2 separate regions of the Homo sapiens genome follow, and region 2 is linked to region 1. The links are contacts of gene promoters, found by promoter capture Hi-C in human tissues and cell types (Jung and others, 2019). All regions are on one chromosome and are shown on one strand. The core of a region is centred on a gene start or on the middle of the fragment in contact, and the rest is flanking DNA. Distances in the headings are between cores, read along the strand shown. Region 1 holds the start of PKNOX1 (PBX/knotted 1 homeobox 1). Region 2 overlaps TRAPPC10 (trafficking protein particle complex subunit 10).

Region 1 (6,909 bases), core at 1,873-4,372:
CTAAAAAGGGGAGGAACCCTCAGTTCCCACCCCTGTTCAGGAAACCTCATGAATAACCCACCCTGTGTTTAGCATATAATCAAGAGCTAACAATATATGTATAAGCTGCCGGGGGAGGAAGGCAGGGCAGGAAAGAAAAACAAGCAAGCAAACAAACAAAAAGTATAAGCAACTGAGCAGCCACGCCACTGGTGGGCCTATGGAGTAGCTGTTCTTTTATTCCTTTGCTTTCTTAATAAACTTGCTTTCAGTTTATGGACTTGCCCTGAGTTCTTTCTTGCTCAAGATCCAAGAATCCCCTCTTGGGGTCTGGATCAAGACCCCCTTTCTGGCAACACATCCCGGCCTTTCCCCCTTTTCTGAAGACAGACTTCAGAAATGAAGAAAAAGAAGGGTGGCCGCTCATGGTGGGTGAAACGGCAAAGCAGCTGGCAGAGAAGGCACCTAGCTGATGACCCCAGAGTCTTCTGGGCCCAGAGTGGGATGGCAGGGCCTGGGCTTCTGTCTGCCCTGGACTTGCTGCAGCTGCTTCCTGGGCTCTGGGTGACCATGCGCTCAGGTCCTCCTGTGGAACTCCTGCTGTCTCACAGGCCAGATGCAAATAAATGAAAGCTTCAGACCGGGGGCAGGTGTAGGTGTGGCCAGTGAGCCCCGGGCTGCTTCCAGGGGCCTGAACAGCATGTCACAGGGCCCCTGCCCCTGCTGAGAAGGGCCCAGGCTTGGGGTAAGGTTCTGCTGTCACTGCCTTGAAATTCTTCACTGTAATTTCTGAGCCAGGGACTTTGTCTTACTGGAATGGGGTCTCAATCCAGATCCCAAGAGAGGGTTCTTGGAGTTTACACAAGAAAGAATTCAGGGAGAATCCACAGAGTAAAGTGAAAGTGAGTTTGTTAGAGAAGTAAATAAACCAAAGAATGGCTACTCCATAGGCAGAGCAGCCCCAAGGGCTGCTGGTTGGCTATTTTTATGGTCCTTTTTTTTTTCCCTAGAATCCGTTCCTGAATTATATTGGTTATTTCTTGATCACGTGCTAAACAAGGGGTGGATTATTCATGAGTTTTCTGGGAAAGTGGTGGGGAATTCCCAGAACTTAGGCTTCCTCTTCCATTTATTTATTTATTTATTGGAGATGGAGTCTTGCTCGTTGCCCAGGCTGGAGTGCAATGGCGTGATCTCGGCTCACTGCAACCTTTGCTTCCCAGGTTCAAGCGATTCTCCTGCCTCAGCCTCCCAAGTAGCTGGGACTACAGGTGTATGCCACCACGCCTGCTTAATTTTTTGGTATTTTTAGTAGAGATGGGGTTTCACCATATTGGCCATGCTGGTCTCAACTCCTGACCTCAAGTAATCTGCCCGCCTTGGCCTCCCCAAAGTGCTGGGATTACTGGCGTGAGCCACTGCGCCCGACCCCTTTTAGGCAATGTAGGGTATCTTCCAAACGTTGCCATGGCATTTGAAAACTGTCATGGCGCTGGCGAGAGTGTGTTTTACCAAGCTCATATATTATAATTAGTGTATAATCAGCAGTGAGGAAGGCCACAGGTCACTTTCCCCGCCATCTTGGTTTTGGTGGGATTTGGCCGGCTTCTTTACTGCATCCTGTTTTATCAGCAGGATCCTTGTGACCTGTGTCTTGTTCCGACCTCCTATCTCATCCGATTACTAAGAACGCCTTAACTCCTGGGGGGTGCGGCCCAGCAGGTCTCAGCTTCAGTTTACCCAGCCCATGTGGAGTCTCTCTGTTCCAACACCTATTGACACTTGCATCTGGATCTTGCACTAGGCTCTGCAGATTATGCTCAGTCTTGAATACTGAGCTTTTTTTGTCCCCTTGAACTTCCCTCCTTGGGCAAGTATCTCAGGGCCTCCCTCTTGCCCACCCTGCTGCTTCCCATCTTTCTGAAAGAGGCGGCTCTGCAGCTGCACAGCACTTGGCCAAGACCTCCTGGCGGTGTGGAGCTCTGAAGACACAGGAGGGATGTCCTCCGAGCTGTTCATGCCTAGACCTACCCCCAGGCTCCCTCTAGCAATCAGCTCCAGTCCTGGGCCTGTCTGCCTTCCGGGAGGAGTGGGGGCCCACAGAGCTGCCCTTCCCGCGCTGTGTATGGACTCAAGGCACTGATGGCCTTCGGTGGGCCACTGCATAAATGGATGTTTCTGCAGTATTGAAGGCCAGTCAGGCAAACCGTGTGCTTTCCTACGCAGTGGGGAATGTGTCGCCCTTTCCTTACATCTTGGAGACCAAAGCCACCATCTGCACTTGTGGGTACATTGTGGCAGTGGTCGGTTAGGGTGGTCTTTCAAAGCAGTTTGAAATGCAGACACTTGTGGGCGTCCCCTAAGGCAGGTGCCCTTTACCTGGAGGCCGCATTGGTCACCTAGACCCGCAAGGCTCACCTGGGCCGGAAGGTGTGGTCAAGCGAGGCCAAGTAGCCCAGAGGCCACCCCTAAGCACCTGTGGACATCATGAGTCCTTGCTGGGGTCCTCACAGAGGGAAGACAGCCCCCAGGGTAAAGCCTCAGGTGCTAAGCACTCGCGCTGCCGCAGGGGGGGAGGCACGTGAGCATCCACTGTGCCGCCCAGGACGGGCCCACCCGGGCTCCAGAGCCTGGGGAGGAAGGCTGCGAGGCTCCCACGGGCTTACATTCAAACCGGGCACACACAGAACGGAGGCCTTCGGCTACGGGACGCCCGGCGGTGGGGTTACGGATGGTACAGCCCTCCCTCCCCGCCTGCTCGAGGCAAATGGTTTCGCCCGGCTACACACACCTCTCCTGGGCGGCAACCGAGGGCGCGGAGGGGGCAAGACGTGCGCTGAGGCCACGCCCCTACTGCATAGTCATAAGGCGGGAGGCTCTGCCTTCGGGGCGGGGCAGACAGCTCCTCGCGCTCGGGCGCGGCCGGTTGGGGGCACGGCCTAGCTCCGGGTGCGGGCGGGGCTGGAGGCGGGGCCGGCCACCGCCCGGTTCCCGCCCTCGCTCTCCTCCCCCAGCGATCAGGCCCCGCCCCGCGCCCGCCGCCGCGCAGGGAGGGGCGGGGCCCGTCTCCGGCAGGCCCCGCCCCCTCTCTGAATATTGATGCGGCGCGCGTCGGCGTCGCCCTCCTCCCATTGAGCGAGGCTGTGTCGCGTGGCCCAGCGTCGGCGTGACGGTTGGACGCGGGCGCGGCACTGCGGGTCCCGATTGCTGCAGCCGCTTGTCAGTGTGATGAAGATTGGCACCCAGGTAAGCTGTCACTCAACCGCTCCGCCGCCGCCGCCGCCGCTCTCGCCGCCGCCGTCCCTATCAATCACACCGGCCCGCGGCCGCCGCCCGCCGCCGCCGCTGCCGCCCGGGTCTGGAGGGCCGGCGCTGCCCTCGAGGGCCCGCATTTGACCCGCCGCCCGGGGCAGGGGGCGGGGAGGGGGCGCGGGTGGGGGAGGGGAGCGGGCACCCGCGGGGGAGGGGGCGCCTTCAGCCCAACCGGCGCGGGGGCGCGCCCAGTTGGTTTCTTAGTGTGGGTTGAGGGACGCGGAAATTTCTGGAAGGCGCCGCCGCCGCCGCGCTGGGCCTGATCGAAGCGCGCGCTCCTAACCGTCCCTTTCGGAGTGCGGCGCGCGCCCCGGCGCGGGGCGGGGGCGCGCGGAGCCCGGCGCGGGCGGGGCGGCGGGCGTGAGGGTCGGGGGCGCGCGGCGGGGCGGGGCCGGGGCGGGCGGCGCGCGTGGGGCCGGTCGGGTCCGCGGCCTCGCGGAGTCCTCAGGGCCGGCGGGGCTGCTCGGAGGGTGCGGGGCGCGCGGCGGCGCAGGCGGGAAGATGGCGGCCGCGACCCCGGCCCCGGCCTCGGCCGTGGCGAGCGGGTGGGTCGGGGTCCTGGGGGCGGTGGGCGTGATGGGGCTCGTGGCCCTCAGCCGGGCGCCGGCGCGGGAGCAGCCCAGGGCCGCTCGCTGACGGCAGTGTTTGGGGCCGGGTGCTGGGGAAGCGGTTCCGGCGTCCCGGGAATTGGTGGGAAGAGCCGCTTCTGTCACACGGGTCGTGGTAATGGATGACAGGAAGTGCCGGGCAGGGTCTGGGCGCCCTGTGGGTTTGCACCTTCCTTGTGAGGGAAATCGTGTCACTTAACGAAAAATGAAGAAACGCGGAGTCTGCTTTATGTCATCCTCGTGGCTCTCGAAATGCCTTATTTGGACAGTGGCTCTGCGACGGGACCAGTTAGGGCCTCCGTTCCGATGGCGGATTCCTGACGGGAGGCCCGAGGGTCCGGGAATGGCGGCGTCCTGAGGTCGGGCCCAGGGCAGGCCAGGCTGAGCGCCACGGCGGGGCCGCAGCCCTGGGGGGTGTTCCACCTGTGTGTGGGGTTCTCTTCCAACTCTACGAGAGTTTGCTTTTTAAAACAGTAGATGATTTTTCCTTAGGAAGTGGTTCCTCTTCAGGATGAAAGAAACCCCCAGCTTTAGTTAGGTCTACTTTCATGATTTTTCCTGGCATACTGAAAAATAGGCTTTCTCTAAACATAAGGAAGAATCGAGGTGAAATGTGAACCTCTGCCAGTATAGTTATTGGTGATGCTCTTGCATTTAGTCATAATTTGGAAGATGGCAGGCTGACCCCAATGAGCCTTTCATCACTCTGCTTAATTTACTTAGAGTGATTTGTGAATCCTGTCCTTGTACACAGGCGTACCTCAGATAATTCGAGTTCTAATCCAGACCACCGCAGTAAAATAAGTATTGCAGTAAAGCAAGTGACGCAACAGTTTTAGGTTTTTCAGTGCATATGAAAGTTGTAATTACAGTATACTACTTAAAGTGTGCAATAGCAAGCATTATATCTATAAAAATGTGCTTACGTTAATTAAAAAATATTTTAGTGCTAAAAATACTAATGATCATCTGAGCCTTTAGTGAGTCCTGCTTGTTTTATACTTTGACAATCTGGCCTCAGTGTGGATGGCTGCTGACTGATCAGGGTGGTGGTGGCTGTGTCAGTTACTTAAAATAAGACAACAGTGAAATTTACTGCATTGATGGACTCCTCCTTTCATGAAAGACTTCTTTGTAGCATGTGATGCTGTTTTGATAGCATTTTAACCACAGTGAAAATTCTTTCAAAGTTGGAGGCTATTCTCAAACTCTGCCACTGCTATCCACTAAGTTGATGTGATATTCCAAATGTTTTGTTGTCATTTCCACAATGTGCACAGCGTCTTCACTAGGAATAAATTCCATTTCAAGAAACCACTTTCTTTGCTCATCCGTAAGAAGCAACTGTTCATTATTTCCACCACATCTGCAGTTCCTTCCTCCACTGAAGTCTTGAACTCCTCCAAGTCATCATAAGGGTTAGAATCAACTTCTTCCAAACTCCTGTTAATGTTATTTGACTTCCTTCCATGAATCATGAATGGCATCTAGAATGGCAGATTCTTTCCAGAAGGTTTTCAGTTTACTTTGCCCAGATTCATGCGAGGAATCACTACCACAGCTATAGCCTTACAAAATGTATTTCTTAAATAATTAAGACTTGAAAGTCAAGATTACTCCTTGGATCCATAGCTGCAGAATGGATGTGGTGTTAGCAGACATGAAGACAGCATTCATCTCCTTGTGTACATCTCCATCAGAGCCCTTGGGTGACTAGGTACATTGTCAGTGAACGGTAATATTTTGAAAGAAATCTTTTTCTGAGCAGTGGATCTCAACAGTGGGTTTAAAATATTCAGTAATGTGTTATTCCATTTCCAGAGCACAGGCAAGAGTAGACGTAACATAATTCTTCAGAACCCTAGGATTTTCAGAATGGTCAAAGACCACTGGCTTCAGCTTAAAGTCACCAGTGACATTTGCCCCTAACAAGAGAGCCAGCTTGCCCTTTGAAACTAAGCACTGAGTTCTCTCTAGGTATGAAAGTCCTAGATGTCATCTCCTTCCAAAGGAAGTCTTTTGTCTATATTGAAAATCTGCTTTTTCGTCTCGCTGCCTTCATCAATGATCTTAGCTAGACCTGGATAACCTGGTGTTGCTTTTCTGTTAGGTAGCACTTGCTGCTTCACCTTGTACTTTCGTGTTATGGGGACAGCTTCTTTCCTTAAACCTCATGAACCAGCCTCTGCTGCTTCCAACTTTTTTTTTTTTTTTTTTTTTTTTTTTGAGATGGATTTTCACTCTTGTTGCCCAAGCTGGAGAGCAATGGCGTGATCTCGGCTCACTGCAACCTCCACCTCCCGGGTTCAAGCGATTCTCCTGCCTCAGCCTCCGTAGTAGCTGGGAGTACAGGCAGCTGCCACCACATACAGCTAATTTTTTGTATTTTTAGTAGAGACGGGCTCTACTAAATGTTAGCTAGGCTGGGACTTCTGACCTCAGGTGATCCACCTGCCTCAGCCTCTCAAAGTGCTGGGATTACAGGGGTGAGCTGCCGTGCCTGGCTCCAACTTTTCTTCTGCATCTTCCTCACCTCTCTCAGCCTTCATAGAATTGAAGAAAACTTGGGCCTGGTTCTCGATTAGGCTTCAGTTTAAGGGAATGTTGTGGCTGGTTTGATCTAATCAGACCACTCATACTTTCCACATATCACCAATAAGGCTGTTTCACTTTCTTTCCCTCCCTCCCTCTTTTTTTGAGACTATTGCCCAGGTTGGAGTGCAGTGGTATGATCATGGCTCACTGCAACCTCTGCCTCCTGGGTGCAAGCAATTCTCTTGCCTCAACCTCCCGAGTAGCTGGGATAACAGGTGTGCAGCATGTGTCCAGCTAATTTTTGTATTATTAGTAGAGGTAAGGTTTCACCATGTTGACCAGGCTGGTCTCGAACTCCTGACCTCAAGTGATCCGCCCGCCTTGGCCTCCCAAAGTGTTGGGATTACAGGTGTGAGCCAACGGACCTGGCCATTTTCTTATTCATGTGTTCACTGGAGTAGCACTTTTTAATTGC
Region 2 (6,374 bases), core at 1-2,500, 1.1 Mb after region 1:
ATGTGGCAGCCCCTGCCCGGTGTGGACAACTTGGAGCCAGGACTCCTTCTGGGGTGGGGGTGGGGAGGAGTCCAGCTAAAGGGCTCTTGGTGGCCTTGTAAGAGGTGGAGAGGCTTCCAGCAGCTCCTTGGATGGCTCACCTGTGACGTGTGGATGGGGTCAGCCGGGTGCTATGTGTATTTTCTTGGCAGTCACAGGCTCTGGGCCCTGTTGGCCTTTTGGTTTTGCTTCCAGGCATGGCGTGTTGGGGCTTCCAGCACAGAATGGTTCACCAGTGCTGTAAAATCTATGCTTCAAGTCCCAAGAACTGCCGTGCTGTGGAAAATGTGCACTAGATAATTAAGTTACTGTTGGGTATTTATTTGCAGGAAATTGAGTTTACCAGTTGGTTTTAATCTCAGTTTTCAAAGTAAAAGATCTTTTCAGATTGTATGATATTTGTAATTTAAATCAGGACATAGCAGTTTTTAAAATCAGGATACAAATGAGAAGTACTGCCTTTTGGAACTTTCTATTTAGTTAGTTAAACCAAAAGAGAGGCTGGGTACAGAATTTAGGATTTAATATTTTTTTTTTGGAGACGCAGTCTCGCTCTGTCGCCCAGGCTGGAGTGCAGTGGTGCGATCTTGACTCACTACAACCTCCGCCTCCCAGTTCAAGCAATTCCCCTGCCTCAGCCTCCTGAGTAGCTGGGACTACAGGTGCACACCGCCATGCCCGGCTAATCTTTCCATTTTTAGTAGAGATGGGGTTTCACCATGTTGCCCAAGCTGGTCTTGAACTCCTGAGCTCAGGCAATCCACCCACCTTAGCCTCCCAAAGTGCTAGGATTACAGGTGTGAGCCACTGTGCCTGGCCAGGATTTAAGATTTAACTCACTCGTGGATACTCTGATTGGCTTCTCTCTGCCTGAGTGTTACTCAAGAGTGACTTGAAAGTCCGGAGGAATTAGGGCAGGACAGTGAGGAACTAGCAAAAGAGGAGAAAGCACTGATTTAGATGGTAGCTGTGAGTTACTGTGTCCAGATATTGTCAGTGCCTAACTTGGAAATGAATTAAGTATCTTGGTTTTAGATTTTCTAAATCTAAAGGGAGTTGGACTCTTCTGAGTGGATTTATGGAATAGAAGCGCAGTTATAAGTGATAACAGGCAAAGTGTCTGTTTTCCTGGTTCTTTATGGAAGAGAACCAAGCTGAAGGCCTTGGCATGTATGTAGAAAGGGCCCTTTCTCTGGCAGGCTCATGCTTGGGCCTCTGCGTGAGAAGCAGGATTGATTTCTGGGATGGCACGGCTCCCTGCTGCCTGTCGGGAAGTAGAGCAGCCTTGCGGAAGCTGCAGGTCGCCTTCTTTCTGAGGTCTCACAGCTGTAGCTGCTTGCCTCTGACACGGCCTTCGCAGACTTGCGGTTGGGGTGGTTCCCAGGGGTACAGAGCTCAGAGGCTGTGGTAGAAGCTGCCGGGAAGCTTGCCTGGGGTTCCTGTGGGCAGTCTGGGCTGTGCCATGACAGCCAGCTTGCCTCCTGAGATGAAGGCACGGCACACAGCAGGATGGCAGTCATGTAGTGCTTGGGCCCAGAGCTGTTGGCCATAGTGGGCCTGGGTTTTAAAGCCCTGACTTGCCTAACAGACAGTATTGCTGTGGGCAGCTCACTCAACCCTCTGACTCTCAGTCTCTTTATCTGGATCACTGGGACGCTCACATCCCTTGGGGTTGTGAGAACTGGGGATCATGCATGCCTGTGTGCGGCACTGAGACCCACAGAGCACGCCCGCAGGCTTGCTAGGCCGCTGGGCTTTTTATTCAATTTAAGTCCCGAGCCTGTCCTGATGCTTTAAAACATTGCGGCCTTTGCAGGCTGTTATTAGGCACATTTTGCTGTATAAACTAAAGGGCATTAGTTAACCTGCTTTCACAGTGACTTGTTTGTTTTTAGGATACCGAAGTGTATAAAGCTACAGTAAAAGATGACCTCACCAAGTGGCAGAATGTTCTGAAGGCTCATAGCTCTGTGGACTGGTTAATAGTGATAGTTGAAAATGATGCCAAGAAAAAAAACAAAACCAACATCCTTCCCCGAACCTCTATTGTGGACAAAATAAGAAATGATTTTTGTAATAAACAGAGTGACAGGTAAGTGTATCTTTAATTTTACCTCATTTGGTTAATACTTGACATGATACAGATTGCTGGCTTCCTGGGTAGTAATAAATATTTACTCAGCAATCTCGAGTGAGTGTCCATGGGGTGCTGTCAAGGAGACCTGGTGCCTGTCCTTGTGGAGTTCCTGTTTAGGCAGGCAAAGAACTCGAAGCAGTCATCCCCCGAGTGTGCTGCCTGGGAGGAGCGGGTCTTGGGCCCATAGTCCTGGGAGGCCTCTTGGTGGGTCCTTTCTGAAGACTGACAGCAGCAGCTCCTGCAGTTCTTCTGTAGAACGGGTCCTTAAAGGTTTTTGTTTTTTTTTTGAAATGACGGCACCTGTGTTTTTTTCTTTACCTTAACACCTGAGAGTTCCTAAGAACACAAGTTATAAAATGCTGACCTAACCCCTTCAGAAACTGTGAAAGGGAATCCTGAAACTTTGGCAGTTAATAGATTGTATGGGCTTTCTCCGCCTTGCCCTGCTCTCTCTCCTGGGGTAGCTCACTCCCTTTCTCTTCAGTGATGCCATTGCCAGCTGAGCCAGCCAGCACGTTAACTCCTCTATAACCGATGGTCTGTATCTCGTAGCTTAGCACTGGAACTCACCCAAGGCCTGGGGATTCAGGGGCGAACATGGACCCTGCCCTGGTCCAGCAGGTCATTATAGCCATGGTCACCATGCTTATGGTGGCGAGGGTTCAGATGGAGGTACATGCTCATTGTAGAATTATTAGAAAAAGGTAATGAGCAAAAAGAAAATGGATATTAACTCTTAGTATTTTGGTATGTATGTTCTGAGACTTTTTTTCTTTATGCATACATAATACGTGTGTGTATTTTAAGTTAATATAACGTTATGTGTTGTTTATACTTGTTTTTTTCACTCAATATATTGTAAAGATTTTCCACAAACAATAAATGCATTTCCAGACTCTCAGTGTTAGTGAGTGGATAATATTCCATAGTATTAATGTGCCGTAAGTTATTTATACATTCTGCTGCTGGGCTTAGGTTATTGCTTACTTATCGTTATAAACAACAATATTAGAATACTTTTCTAGCTCAAATGTTGTGAGCATCCTTAATTATTTCAGGATACCTTCCCTAAAGGAAAATTGCTTGGTAACAGATTTTGTGCATTTTTTGGGCTTTTGCTAGTTACGAGGCTGGTAGAGGCAAGGGTTGACTTGTGATCAGCAGTGTGACTTGTGACAGCAGTAGCCGTTGTGGTGTCTCGCTGAGGCTGCAGCCGGGAGCCCCTTGTTCCACATGTGCCTCCAGCCCCTGCAGTCTGCGCGCCTGGGGGGATCACGCCGCTCTCCAGATTGGCCCACCATCCCTGACTTCATTCGTTGTTTTGGGCTCTCCTTTTCTGAGTTAATGATTTAGGCTTGATGTGAACTTCTGAAGTGTAGTTCTTTTTTACTTAAAAAAAATTGATGATGATATAGAAACAGGATCTAATAGAGATAGGACATTTCATGACTGTGTATCTGATTGACCTCTGAAAACAGTTACTGTTTTGGTGGTTGGCACTTGTTAAGTTTCCATTTCCATTCACCCCTGTAGGCGCACAGGAGAATTCGCGTCTGGTCGGGAATAAATGTTGGTAATTATAATCCTTGAGAATGCCTTAAGGATAAACTACCTAACTCATAGGTTCTAGCAAGCTCCTACTGTGGATAAATACAAGTTAGTCCTCTGGGGGACCTTTGGAGTGAGCGGCTCTGGTCCCTTTGTCTTTGAGGGAAGAAAGTGTGCAGTGGGGTGGATTGAATGGAATTAAAGCCAGCCACCAAGTTATAAGTTTTCTTCTTGGTTCTGGTTGTTCACATGGTGGAACATGTAGAGTGTATGCTGCTTCACTGTTTTGTCCACTGATTTATAATTCCATGAATTTAGCCATGCCTCCAAAGGATATGCTGGGGCACGGAAAAAAGGAACTTAGAGTCAGTTCATTTTGCTACTTTTTGGTAATTCAAGTAAAATATTTACTAAGGAGAACTGGTGAAGCTCATAGAATCAATGTTTTAAAATTATTTCTGAGTTCAGATTTATTAATCATCTTTCTAGATTACTATTACCAAGGCTAAAGAAATTTACCATTTCCAGCCTATCAGATAAATACGTTGCCTTGTCCAAATCTGTTGGGAACTTTGTGTAATTTCGTGTGTTTGACCTTTTTACATCATGGGTTCAGCCTCTTTGTAATTAAACTGTTTGCTCTATATGTTAAGCCATGTTCTAAGCCTTTATTTGTTAATTGTTTATTAACCTTCCCCTTCAAGAGCTCACAGGCTAGTGGGAGGGATAGAGGTCCAGAGAAGGGGAGTGTTTTCCTGTGAGGCCCACAGCCTAGCAGCAGTGTGGGCAGAGCAGTTGGGATGGTGATTGGGGGAGGTTTGTGAAGATGCCACGCCTGGGTGGAAGGAATGTTCTCATGAAGAGAGGAGAGCGGGAGAAGGTCAGCAGGCTTGAGCTGGGAAGCAGAGGAAGTAAAGTGAGACATCGTGGTCCTTTTGTGCTGTGCTGAGAAATCTAAATTTATCCTGTCGATCCCAAGGAACCAAAATGGATTTTGAAGGAGGCAGGGAACTGAGTGAGGCGTGATCACATTATTTTACAGAGGACTCAGAGCTGCGTCTTTGGCTCAGGGCTCATGTAAATCCCTTTCCCCCTTTCCAGTTGATTCTATAGCAAACTCTCCTTTGAATTTCTGTAGAACTTACTGCTCGTGTTCATGACCAGTTCATGATGAAGCCTTTTCCTAACCTGGTTTCTTACCGCCTGCCTCATGTTTTTGACTGTTTATAGACGGAAGAAGCTAGATGCGGTGGCTTATGCCTATAATCCCAGCACTTTGAGAGGCCGAGGCAGGAGGATTGTTTGAGCCCAGGAGTTCGAGACCAGCCTGGGCAACATAGCAAGACCTCACCTTTACAAAAAAATACAAAAATTAACCAGGCATGGTGGTGCGTGCCTGTGATCCCAGCTACTGGGGAGGATCACTGGAGCCTGGGAGGTGGAGGTTGCAGTGAGCCAAGATTGTGCCACTGCACTCCAGCCTGGGCCACAGAGCAAAACTCTGTCTCAAAAAAAAAAAAAAAAGGAGGAGGAAGGAAGAAAATTGCCGCTCAGGACAATGGCAGCTGCTGAGTCGTGGTGCTGTGCATGGAGGGTCTTTCCCAGATAGTCTGTTCATGTCTTTGCAGGTGTGTTGTGCTCTCCGACCCCTTGAAGGACTCTTCTCGAACTCAGGAATCCTGGAATGCCTTCCTGACCAAACTCAGGACATTGCTTCTTATGTCTTTTACCAAAAACCTAGGCAAGTTTGAGGATGACATGAGAACCTTGAGGGAGAAGAGGACTGAGCCAGGCTGGAGCTTTTGTGAATATTTCATGGTTCAGGTACTTGACTCATTACAGAACTAGACAGTTCCTTCTCTCCTTCCCTCCTTTGTTCCCTCCCTCTCTCCTCCTTTCTTTCTAAGTAAGGCACCTCTCGTGGTAATCTCATTGGCAGAGTTTTTAAAAACAAAAAACCTGGAATATCTTTAGGACTAGAAAGGAAGTGTATGGAAGCAGATGGGGCATGAAAAGGACACACACACTGCCCCGGGGAGCCTCTGGGGGCAAAAGCTGGAGCAGTTTCAGTGACAGAATAAATAAGGATAGAGTCGAGGTTTAACCCATGGAATAAAATTAATATCCATGAGTCTGTATCGATAGAAATCATCAGTTAAATAAATAAATGGAGGAGAAGGGTCAACTCTTCCATACAGAAGAATTCCACTTAAACGCAGAAGGAAAGAAAAACAGAAAATCACTTTTAAGCCAGTGCTCCAGCAAGAACTGTTGGAGGCAGGATTACTGATGGGTGTCCGGGGTGGTGGGCAAAGGCCTGAGAAGAGGTGGGCTTGCACAGTCTCACGGTGGCCCCCCAAGATGTCTGTCAGCTACTGAGGGAGCAGTAGCCACTCCACAGTGGGGAAACCAGGTACATACCACCTGAATGAAATGATAAGGCCGCTTCTGCCCATGAGAAGCTGTGTCCACCTCATGAAATCCTTGGTAAGATGTTCTGAGAAATACTTAGCGTCTTTTCTCTGTAAAAAATGATCATCTCACGGCAGTCACGGAACATATCAAATGAACCCACGTAAAGGGACATTAGACAACATAGCTCTCTTCAAGGGTGCCACGGCAGTGAAAGACAGACTGTGAAGCTGACAGA

The links. Contacts are between HindIII fragments. The study calls those that stand out against the background at their distance.
Region 2: a contact is called between a fragment that was not itself captured here and the fragment with the promoter of PKNOX1 in region 1, in 1 of the 25 tissues and cell types used here (spleen).

What each region holds. Positions count from the first base shown.
Region 1 is chr21:42,971,440-42,978,348 of GRCh38, forward strand. PKNOX1 (PBX/knotted 1 homeobox 1) reads left to right here and starts at 3,123. Exons shown (of 11, transcript NM_004571.5): 1 at 3,123-3,225. RefSeq lists enhancers at 40-799, 3,922-4,648 and silencers at 2,311-2,470, 2,781-3,170, 3,301-3,620, 3,761-3,960. The HindIII fragment of the contact is 23,812 bases long and covers 1-6,909 here.
Region 2 is chr21:44,050,346-44,056,719 of GRCh38, forward strand. It overlaps TRAPPC10 (trafficking protein particle complex subunit 10), which reads left to right. Exons shown (of 23, transcript NM_003274.5): 4 at 1,935-2,131; 5 at 5,353-5,548. Among named protein-coding and RNA genes, the nearest start is that of TRAPPC10, 41 kb to the left of the region's middle. The HindIII fragment of the contact is 8,976 bases long and covers 1-5,738 here.